Regions from separate parts of the Homo sapiens genome. Here region 2 is linked to region 1. Evidence: promoter capture Hi-C in human tissues and cell types (Jung and others, 2019). All regions are on one chromosome and are shown on one strand. The core of a region is centred on a gene start or on the middle of the fragment in contact, and the rest is flanking DNA. Distances in the headings are between cores, read along the strand shown. Region 1 holds the start of SLC1A7 (solute carrier family 1 member 7). Region 2 overlaps SCP2 (sterol carrier protein 2).

The links. Contacts are between HindIII fragments. The study calls those that stand out against the background at their distance.
Region 2: a contact is called between a fragment that was not itself captured here and the fragment with the promoter of SLC1A7 in region 1, in 2 of the 25 tissues and cell types used here (IMR-90 fibroblasts and thymus).

Annotation. Positions count from the first base shown.
Region 1 is chr1:53,139,026-53,144,639 of GRCh38, reverse strand. It overlaps SLC1A7 (solute carrier family 1 member 7), which reads left to right and starts at 2,002. Exons shown (of 11, transcript NM_006671.6): 1 at 2,002-2,325. The coding sequence starts at 2,191. The HindIII fragment of the contact is 7,479 bases long and covers 1-5,134 here.
Region 2 is chr1:52,969,078-52,974,903 of GRCh38, reverse strand. SCP2 (sterol carrier protein 2) reads right to left here. Exons shown (of 16, transcript NM_002979.5): 7 at 72-135. Among named protein-coding and RNA genes, the nearest start is that of SCP2, 45 kb to the right of the region's middle. RefSeq lists an enhancer at 1-49. The HindIII fragment of the contact is 5,158 bases long and covers 759-5,826 here.

The DNA.
Region 1 (5,614 bases), core at 753-3,252:
TCACTGTTGTGTTTCTAGTACCCAGGGGGTGTGGCACACTAAATGGTGCTATAAGAACATTTGCTAGAGTGAGTTGAAATTCTCCTGTTGAAGACCGTAGGAACAGTGGAAAGAATGGCTGTAGTCTGGTAGGCAGGTAGTGGTAGGCTCAGCCTGTGGGAGAGAGGAGTCAGTGGTGGCTATAGGGCACGTCCTGGGAATGGGAGTCATGGAGCTGTGGTAGAAAGCAAGACTCACCTATATCATGGCACAGCTAAAGGCCAGGTCTGGGCTGGGTGTGGTGGCTCATGCCTGCAGTCCCAACACGTTAGGAGGCCAAGATGGGAGGATTGTTTGAGCCCAGGAGTTGATCAAAACCCAAATCCAAATACCTACTTAGCATATTTTCTCTTCTGGGAAGTAACTAACCACCTGATTATTTGGAAAATGAGGCATTTGTTGGAGTTGAAGGTGTAGCAAGAAACTTTTGGTTTTAAGAGTCAAAGTCAGAGGAAAAAAAACTCTCAGACTTGTATTCACCCCCACCCCCCACCCCAAGCTACTGCAAAGAGCAGGGGCTTTGGAAGATTGGTTTGTTGAAATGAAGTTCCTTTGACAAAGGTACCTGGGCCCATTTCTCTCATTCTAAAAAGGACAAGACTGATACCCAGAGACGGCAAGGTCACAGAGCTGATTAAATTGGGATCAGAATCTTCTCAGTCAGGAGCTCTGTCCATGGCTTCAGAGCCTGTGCCCCAGTCCCCTCTCCCCACCTCTCCCCTATGCCCCACTTGGCCCGTCCTCTTCATCCTCTGCCCCTGTCTCCTATGTCAGGAGGAGGAAGCCCCTGTGTGCACCCCACCCTTTACCTCCCACCCTCACTGCAGACTGCACTTCCCATTCCCTGCTGCCTGCTGCCTGACTGCTCCTAATGAGATTACAGATCTCTGGTGAAATAGACGAGGGTTAATTCCCCCAGGCTTTACAGGGCAGGGCAGGCCAGGCCACAAGAAATAGCAAAAAGACACCTATTCTCCAAAGCACTAAGTGTGATAATGACCCTAAGAGTCCGTTCCCCTGTTCAGCACACCAGGGTTCACACTGCGTTTCCAAATACCCTCTGGGTGGAATTTTGTACCAGCCCTAACAAAGTAGATGCTGTTATCATCTCTATTTTACAGATGGAGAAACTGAGGCACAGTGAGATGAAATGCTTGTCTGAGGTCACACAGCTAGTAAGTGGCAGAGCTGGGACCCGAATGTGGGTCTCTTGGGCTCTGTCATCTTTAAAAAATAATAGGCCCAGAGAGCCTGCAGGGTGCCCAGCACCAGGCTTGAAACAGCCCTGAAGCATCTACGTCCCATTTCCCGGTGAGTGGCACAGCCCACCTTTGAACTCAGGTCCCCTGGACTCGAATCTACATTCCCCACAATACTGCCAAGCACCCTTGAACCTATCTGCCTGTTCATGTGGTGGAAACAGACTGGCCTAGCCCTGACTTCTGACCTCTGTGACCATGGCCAAGGGACTGGCTTCTGGGGTCTCAGCCTCCCTTTCTGAAAAATGAAGGTGGGAACCCTGGGATCTTTGGGACAATTCCCTATGATTGGCATAGCTAAGGCAGCCAGCACAGGCCTGGCCCGCAGCACATGCACCCACCCACCTCAGTTTCTTTATCTGTAAAATGGTGATATTAATAGTACTTATTTCTTGGGATTGGTGTTAGGATTAAATATGCCAGTACATGTAACACTCTTCTAGAATGGCACCTGGTGCATAGTAAATGCTTAATTAATGTTGAGGGAAACTGATATCTTACTGTCTTGTTTTTGATTCTTTCTGGAAGGAAGCAGGGGTAAAGATCAAACCAACCAAGCAAATGTTCCTCTTGTTCCTTCCAGTACCTGGTCCACTCAACTGTTTAAGAGGAACGCTTGGCTTTGAGGCCTGAACTCCTAGACCACGTGGTCTGCTCTAATTTCCCAGGCCCTAATCTGCTCCCAGCTCCTAATGATGCAGCTGGTAATAGGATTGTGGCTTCCCTCTAAGGCGGCCACACGGGCATGGCCGTGGGGCTGGCGACTGGTGTTTAGCAACTCCGACCACCTGCCTGCTGAGGGGCTAGAGCCCTCAGCCCAGACCCTGTGCCCCCGGCCGGGCTCTCATGCGTGGAATGGTGCTGTGCCCCTTGCCAGCAGGCCAGGCTCACCATGGTGCCGCATGCCATCTTGGCACGGGGGAGGGACGTGTGCAGGCGGAATGGACTCCTCATCCTGTCTGTGCTGTCTGTCATCGTGGGCTGCCTCCTCGGCTTCTTCTTGAGGACCCGGCGCCTCTCACCACAGGTCAGCCACCCAGAGCATCTCGGGACCCCTGTCCAGGAGGGGCGTGTGGGCCTGAGGGATCTGGGGTCCCGTTCTAGCATCACAGCTCCCTGGTGCCATGACAGTGTGTGAATCCCTCTGCCTCTCTGGGTCCTGGTTTTCTCATCTGTAACATGGGTGTGATAAACACTTTGCAGGACTAGAGGGAAGAACCAGTGATGTGGCTGGGGAGTGATTACAAACCCAGCACCATCAGGTGAGGAGAGGCGAGGGTGCCTCATGATGACAAACACAGGGCCAAGAGCTGTGGCGGGGAAAGAGGGGGGTCTTGTGTGAGTTCAAACAGGCACCAGAGAACACCTCCTAAAGGCTGCTCAAATGACAAGAGATCCAGGAAGCGTGCTCTAGGCAGAGGTGACAGCAGATGCCAGGTGCAGCGGCCGGAGCGCAGAGGCCAGCAGGCCCATAGGTCCCATCGCCACACGTGGGCTTGCGGCAACCATGAGATGCTTTTGGGCAGAAGAGCGACAGGCCAGTTTGGAGCTTGGGAGACCCCTCAGGTGCTGAGTGGAGAGGGGGTGATTCTGGGGCAGGCAGGGGGCCGAGAAGGGGCAGCCTGGGGGAGATGCGGCAGTGCAGACAAAAGGGACAGACGTGAGAACTGTTTTCAAAAGGGGGAGCTTCAGGATGTGGGGGCCGATTGGATGTGGGCTGGGGGACAGGAAGGGGAGCCAGGCCCCGGGTTTCCAGCCTGTGTAACTGCCATGAAGAAGCTGCGTTTCCTGGGAAAGAGCCCCTTTCCCTGTCAGCCCCCATCTCCTACAGGAGAGGGAGGGACATTCCCATGGTGTTAAGGACAAAATCATTCTGCCACTAGTTAAACTGGTAAGGAAGGCTCTATTCAGGACTATTGTGGTAGGGGGGTAGTTATCAAGACCTCCTGGGGAGAGAGATGGGACCCAACCACAAATACAACAAAGATGGCTGGAGATTTATAGCCAGCGAGCAGAGGGAGGGGGTCGGGGACAGAAAATGACTACAGGAGACATCAGGGTAGGGGGATTCTTGTTGAAGGCAGGCCAGGGTGATCAGACATTGATCTGGGATGAGGAATTTGATCCAGTATCAGGATGCTGGAGGGTGAGGGATCCTCACTAAACTGACTTGGCAGGACTTTTGCTACAGCTGGACTATGCAGGCTGAAGACAAGGCCCAAGGACAAAGCCCAGTGGAAAAGAGGGCTCAGAGGAGCCTGTCTAAAGTGTGGTCAAGGAGAGAGGCTTTGTCAATGGGCTCCTGGAAGAGTCCCTATTCCCAGAAAGTCCTCTTCCCGCAGCTCACTAATGTCTAATGCCATCTCTACAACTGGGGTCAGGCATTAGACTTTGTCTTCCATTAAAAGGAAAACACCCACTCCTGGAGAACTGAGCCACGACTATAGTGACCCTGTTAAGCCTCGAGCAGTTATTTAGGAAGAAGCATGGACTCTGGAGGCAGAGAAACCCTGAACTTTGACTCTGCTAGCAAATGGCTAGGCAATATCCTCTCTCCTCCCTGGGCCTCAGTTTCCTTGTCTGTAAAATGGGATGTGGGGCAGTATATGTCTACTAGAATTATTATGAGGAATAAACCAAGGATTCATCAATGCCCAGCATACAGTAGGTGCTTACTACGTGTTACTTCCCCCTCCCTCCCTTATGTACCTGTTAAAGTCCTATCTACATCAGGAACCATCTCATCATCCATAGCTGATGAAAGTAACTGTAACCCCGCTGCTGGCTGCCTGGCTTCAGAGCTGGTTATATGGGTGTCTCTTTCTCCCACCAAGCTGCATATTGCTGAACAACATATGGGTTTGTTTTTTTTTTTAACCAAAACGTGAGCCTAGCCCTGTGTCAGGCACAGAGAGAACGCTCAACTATCTGCTGCATTAAACTGGCAATGGAACAAAAAAATCTGCAATCTGTTCTCTTTAATTTTCCTCAGCAACAAAAATATATCTCCTGCAGGAAGATTATTTTGTGAAAACAAATTGGAATGCCTATTATTAAAAGCCAAACTCATCTGGGGCCTACTTTGCCAAAGCTGCCTTTCCCATCTGTTTGGAAATGCAAATGTATTCCAGTCTGGATTAACCTGCCAGATAAATTGAAGGAAGGATGTAGAGGCTTAGAACAATTATTTGGCAGAAACTGGCTTTCTCAGCATCTTACTTTGAAATCTGGGATTTCTCTGTTTGATCTCTTTGCCTGTGACTCAGAAACTAAACACTTCTTGTTTTGTAAGCTTATGCAACAGGCAAAAATCATAAACAATATGGAAAATGGTAGAATGTTCTATTTGTGAAAAAGAACTTTTATCCTTGATAAAATCACAGGATTTTATCTTGGTGTATGAGTGTCTCATTTAAAAATACTGAGCATTTTGAGACTTCCAGTTAAACCATGGTGAATCACAGGTGTATCCATTTTTTTCCCTCCTTCCTAGAATTCCACTAACATTTTAGTAATGGGATTTTTAAAAGGTAAAACCACCAAGAATAAAGAGAATATAAAAGGAGACAGTTGAGAAAAAGAAATAGAGAGGCTACAACAAATTAGATAATATGGAGGTGGGTGGAGCTGATGACCTCATTCACAGAAAGCTGGAATCTTAGTCTGTGGAAGTTGATACCAAGTCAGTTTGTCTTGCAGACTCCAGAACGTAACAGAGCAAGATGCTGCACTAGGCAGGGTGAGGCTGGGGTTGAAAGCCTGGGCATGGTTTGGAGTTTTGTAACCAGAGCAGTTAGACCCCTAGGGACCTTCCAATTCAGTTGGGGGACTCATCCACCCATCTCCACCCACTGCCTGCCCCAAGGAACCAGAGAAGCTGGACTTGAGGGTATTGGGCCACCCCTGTGTGTGTTGGGGAGAGGGCCATGCTGAGGCACCTACTTCAAACTAATTAACAGACATCCTTGTCTGAGTGGGGTCCCCAGCACGGTTTCAGATCGCTGTCAGCTGAGCTTAGGCACCATGTCATTCCTCAGCCAAAGGCAGGAAGAGACTTCTCTCACTGAGGCCTCAGAGAAAAGATCTCTAAATTCTGCTATAAAGGAGACTCCTCTACCATCCCACCCAGCCCCAGTGAAAAAGCCAGATCAGCACCTGTCACCCTGCCCTGAGGGCCGTCAGTTGACAAACCCTACTCATACATGCAGAAGTTTAGCGCTTCAAACTTACATACGAGCAGAAAGCCACGCCACCAGAAATGTGAGGAGGCTCCTAATGTGAAACAGAGTAAACGAAGAGAAAAGGGGGTCTCTAAT
Region 2 (5,826 bases), core at 2,088-4,587, 170 kb after region 1:
AAGTATAAAGTTGCATATTATACAGTAGGATAACCCAGATTTTCATTATTTCATGTCTCTGAAATACTTACGGGTTATTAACTGAATGTTTATGATTTTTCCATCCAATTTTTGCAAAGTGTTCAATTTTTGTTCCTGTAAAGAAAGCAAACATCTACCAGTGGGTGAATGTTTTTCCGCTGCTTATTAACAAATCTTGCAATGGTACTCAGTGTTCTGCTAAATATCTCCATATTTTCCCTTTCATATATATCATCAGTATTAAAGACTTCAGCACTGTTCCCTCAAAAAATTTTTATTTATAATTAAATGTGGGCCTAATTAACGAACTGAATCAACTAATAGGCACATAAGATAAAAACAGTTCAAACTGATCTATTCTAATTAAAATAAGTAGAACCCAGTTTCAAAAACAAGAAACATGGTGGTTTTAAGGCAGGAGAACACTACAATTCCTCTAGGAGTCTGTCAAACACCCCAGTACGCTAGACTGAGAGAATTTTACACAACTCACACCCTCCAGGGCATGATAAGATATTTCATCTTCCTCCCTTTCCTTATGATAAAACAGAAAAGTTTTTAGAAGAGTTATATCCTGATAAGAAATATGTATGCCTTTTAAATTCCTTAACAGAAAATTTAAATAATCGTGTCAGGAAAACAAAAAAAAGTACAGTAATGAGGTAAAACACGCAAAAAAAATTTTTTTTTACTACTTTTAAAAAGATAAAACTGAATAAAATATGCTTTGAATTCTCATTTGGTGCTGTAAAGGCCAAAGAAAAAAGAAAGCCACCAATTAGAGCTGATAATGTTATATTAATGGCACAGTAAAGTACAAAGTTCCCCATGTCTGTTTTATCTCTCTCTTCTCTATCAAGGAGGATGATCTTCAGAGCAAAAATGACATACATATAATTAAGCAAATCTTATCTCAATTCTAATAAAAAGAGAAGATAAATTCCACACTTGTGATCTTCTAACAATAAAAATAGTGATCAGGGCCAAGCGCGATGGCTCATGCCTGTAACCCCAGCATTTTGGGAAGCCAAGGTGGGTGGATCATTTGAGGTCAGGAGTTCAAGACCAGACTAGTCAACATGGTGAGACTCTGTCTCTAGTAAAACTACAAAAATTAGCCAGGCGTAGTAAAAACACAAAAATTAGCTAGGTATAGTGGCATACACCTGTCATCTCAGCTACTTGGGAGGCTGAGGCAGGAGAATCACTTGAACCCGGAAGACGGAGATTGCAGTGAGCCGAGATTGTGCCATTGCACTCCAGCCTAGGTGACAGCGTGAGACTCCATCTCAAAAAAAGAATAGTGATCAGGAGGAGGCCAATATGGGTTCAATAAGAATAAGACAAGTCAAATTATGTGTTATCTTTTCGTGACTGAATTGACTGTTAGATCAAAGAAAACATAGTATCTGGACAGCAGCAAGAAAATTAACGAAATTTCTCAAAACATTTTGGACAAGATAAGGAAATATCGTAGTGTGGGATTTTGGGGGGTTATTTTCATTTTTATCTTTTGGTGTTACCAAAAAAAAAAAAAGAGGGTTCTTCTGTCAAATAAGTTTAGACTATGGTTAAACAAAGCTAAACACGTCTTTACTGTAAGACATTTGGAGCCTTTACTATTGCACTATGTGCATTATGACCATCTAGAAGAGGATTAAAGTATGAAGCATTTCCCAATATTACACTCATGTGAAACAACAGGCATTAATTAATGCATTGACCTAGAGAAAAGTTTCTAGCACTAACTTCTAACCTCAGCTCTGGTCTTGTTAATATTTCTATTACAAAGTGAGTAAGAAAACTAGAGGCTCTCTCACCAAACCTAAAGCTGGAAGGGACTGCTATAATGTTGAATTTCAACAAGGTCTATCAATAGGATGGATCAGAATATAAATTAAACACTCAGTTCTATTCTTGAACTCCCACAACAACCTGCAAAAATGAGCAACAACTATGAGAAACCTCAAGCTCAGTGAGATTTCATAGTGTGATGTGACTAGCAGAATAGCTTACATGGGATCACAGTACAGCAATTAGACTGCTTATGGGTTATGAAACAAGTCTAATGAGAGTAGTTAAGAGAAGAAATTAAATATAGGGTCAGGCTGGCTTCAGATATTTGAAGGGCTACAAGGTAAAATAGGCTTTTTCTGTCATTCTCAGAAGACAAAAACAAGACCATGGATGCAAACCATAGGGTGAGAGATTTGGGTTCAACATGAAAAAGGGAATTGTAACAATTGGAATCTCCTAAAAATTGGGATTGGTGGCCTCAGTTGGTGACAAATTCCTTGTTTTAGGAAGTACACATGCTTTATTGTCTCTATTAGATTTGCAAGCAATCCATGCATAGATTGGTAGGAAGAAGGGTGGCTAAAACAGTAAAGTACTTGGCATGGTGTCTGACATAAGAGATGTTCAATAATGTTCGTATCTTTTCTTCCTTTTTTCGTAACATAGGATCTGATTAATCAATAAAAGACAGCATCCCCTTGAAAAATATTCTGCCAGTCACTTACATATTTATTAAGCCTGGCCACTGATGAAGGGCTTATTGACTACTGATTCTGAATTGCCAATTAAGATTTTTGACTATTCAAAGGCTATGCCTTTATGTCAAACTATTTTAATATCCTATAATTTAATTATGAAACCACAAACTCGGCTGGTTCTACAAATGATTTAAACTACTATAAGCTTTCTTACATATTCATTTCTAGTGCACATTCAGAACACTCACAAACAGCAATTTTAAATAACAATTTAAATTATATAAAATTCTACAATTCATTTAGAAATCTGTCGAATGAAGAATAAAGAAACAATACCCCCAAATGATAGCCTCAGAAGCAAAAGTTTTTCACTGACCTTCTCCTACCCTCCTGTCTCTCAGGCCCATTCTCTCCTGAGGCTAACCATAGAAACTAGAATCCCTCTTCCCCAAGGCAGGTCATAGAAACCAGAACTCCTTTTCCCCAAAGCCAGTCATAAAACCTAGAAATATTACTTTAACTTCCTCCACCTTTCTGTGTAAAAACTGGTCATAAACAAACTATCTGACCTATCTTGTTTGACTGTGGGTCATAAGACCCCCATTCCAGAAAGGGACCTGCCCCACGCCCAGAAGGAAGGAATGTGTGCTCAAAGAGGCCAAGAAGAACCTAGATGGACAGGCCTGGCTGGGTTTCTCCACTCAGTCTATTAGCATTAGATCATATGCTTTTTGTCCAATCATATTTCTATAGGGCTGTTCCATACTTTGTTGAACCTAAGCATAAAAATGGACAATTTCCCATTTTTTTGAGTCTTCATTCTGAATGTTCCCGTGTACACACGTTAAATAAATTTGTATGCCTTTTCTCCTGTTAATCTGCCTCATGTAAGTGATTTTCAGTGAACCTTCAGAGGGTCAAGGCCCTTGTTCCCTACAATGACATTTCCACTAAAATAGTGTACATTTATATTTCAAATTTTAGACTAGAAAACTGTCCAATTATTCTGAGCAATGTAAAACTTGAGAAAATATATACACTTAAAAACACATCAGTAACAGGATTTCCAGGTAATTGAGGAAAAATGGAGGCCACGTAAATCTGTGTCTCTCGGCCGGGAGCGGTGGCTCACGCCTGTAATCCCAGCACTTTGGGAGGCCGAGGCGGGTGGATCACGAGGTCGGGATATCGAGACCATCCTGGCTAACACGGTGAAACCCCGTCTCTACTAAAAATACAGAAAAATTAGCCAGGCGTGGTGGCGGGCATCTGTAGTCCCAGCTACTCGGGAGGCTGAGGCGGGAGAATGGCGTGAACCCGGGAGGCAGAGCTTGCAGTGAGCTGAGATTGCGCCACTGCACTCCAGCCTGGGCAACAGACTGAGACTCTGTCTCAAAAAAAAAAAAAAAAAAAAAAAAATCTGTGTCTCTCTATAGCCTCTAAAACCAATACAGAATAACCAGAAAAAATAAAATAGCACAAATCATACTCTCAGCATAACTAGAAAATAGAAAATGCCAAATTTCAAATTATCTATAAGTTAAAAAAAAAAGAAAAAGAAAAGAAAAAATATATAAGACCAAATCCCAGCCAACAACTGCTCACGTTTCTACACAAACCTTTAAGGGTACATGGGCAGGCTGAGGAAACTGTGCAGAGAAGAGGGGAGATAATCGCAGGCCAACAACTGCTCTAAACTACCAAGAAAAGAAAGACCTCCTCCCCAAGTGTGAAAATACCAAGAAAATATTCCTATAGATCAAACCATGACTATATGGAATGGGCTGAAAAACACAGGAGATCTGAGGTGGGAATCTTAAAGGTATAAGTTCTGAGAGGAAAAAAAAAAGCAAAATGAAAGGGCAAGGTCCCTTTTGGTGCAATTGAGTAGTGAAGGAGAAAAGCAGCATAAGAGGACATTTGTATGTAAGAGGACATTTGTATGGTGCAATTGAGCGGTGAAGGAGAAAAGCAGCAAAAGAGGACAAGGTACACCTGTAGTCCCAGCGACTCAGGACGCTGAGACAGGAGTATTGCCTGAGCCCAGGGGTTTGTGGCTGTGGTGCACCATGATTGCACCTAAAAAGAGTCAGCCTGGGTAGTATTGCAAGACCCCATTCTACTACACTTACAGAAGAGGGCACCATAGAACTAAGAATCCCCTCAGTCTACAAACAACACACTCAAATCACCAGGCAATAAAACTAGAAATTACTAATAAAATTAAAAGTCCACCTGGAAATTTAAAAAATATTTCCATGAAATAATTCTTGGGTAAAAAATGAAAATAGAAATGGAAATTATAGAACTTGTCAGAAAATAATGATAATGAAAATACTACATATCAGAATCAATGTGATACATTTAACACAGTAATCAGGAAAATATATACCACTAACCATTTATTAATAAGAATAAATGAATGACATAAGGAATATTATTAAGCAGTAAAAAGGAATGAGGTCCTAATACATGCTATGACATGAATGAACAGTGAAAATATACTAACTTAAAGAAGCCAGTCACAAAAGGCCACTTTTTTTGTTTGTTTGTTTGTTTGTTTGTTTGAGATGGAGTCTAGCTCTGCCGCCCGGGCTGGAGTGCAGAGGTGCAATCTCAGCTCACTGCAACCTCCACCTCCCAGGCTCAAGCAGTTCTCCTGCCTCAGCCTCCCCAGTTGCTGGGATTACAGGCACACGCGACCACGCCCGGCTAATTTTTGTATTTTAGTAGAGATGGGGTTTCACCATGTTGGCCAGGCTGGTCTTGAACTCCAGACCTCAGGGGATCCCCCAACCTCAGCCTCCCAAAGTGCTGGGATTACAGGTGTGAGTCACTGTGCCTGGCCTTTTTAGAAAAAACAAACAAACAAACAAACAAAAACAGGGTCACACTCTGTCAACCAGGCTGGAATGCAGAGGTGCGACCTTGGCTTACTGCAGCCTCCTCCTTCCAGGCTCAAGCAGTCCTCCCACTTCAGCTTCCCAAGTAGCTGAGACTATAGGCATGTGCCACCACACCAGCTAACTTTTGTGGTTTCATCATGTTGCCCAGGCTGGTCTTGAACTCCTGGGCTCAAGCGATCTACCTGCCTCAGCCTCCCAAAGTGCTGGGATTACAGGTGTGTATCACCATATCCAGAAAGGCCACATATTGATTATATTTGACTCTTGAACAACACAGGTTTAAGCTGCATGGGTCCACTATAAGGGGACTTTTTTCAATGACAGTTACATCAAGTATGCCTGCCTCTTCTGCCTCCTCTTCCACCTCTTCTGTCTCTGCCACCTGGGACAGCAAGACCAACCTT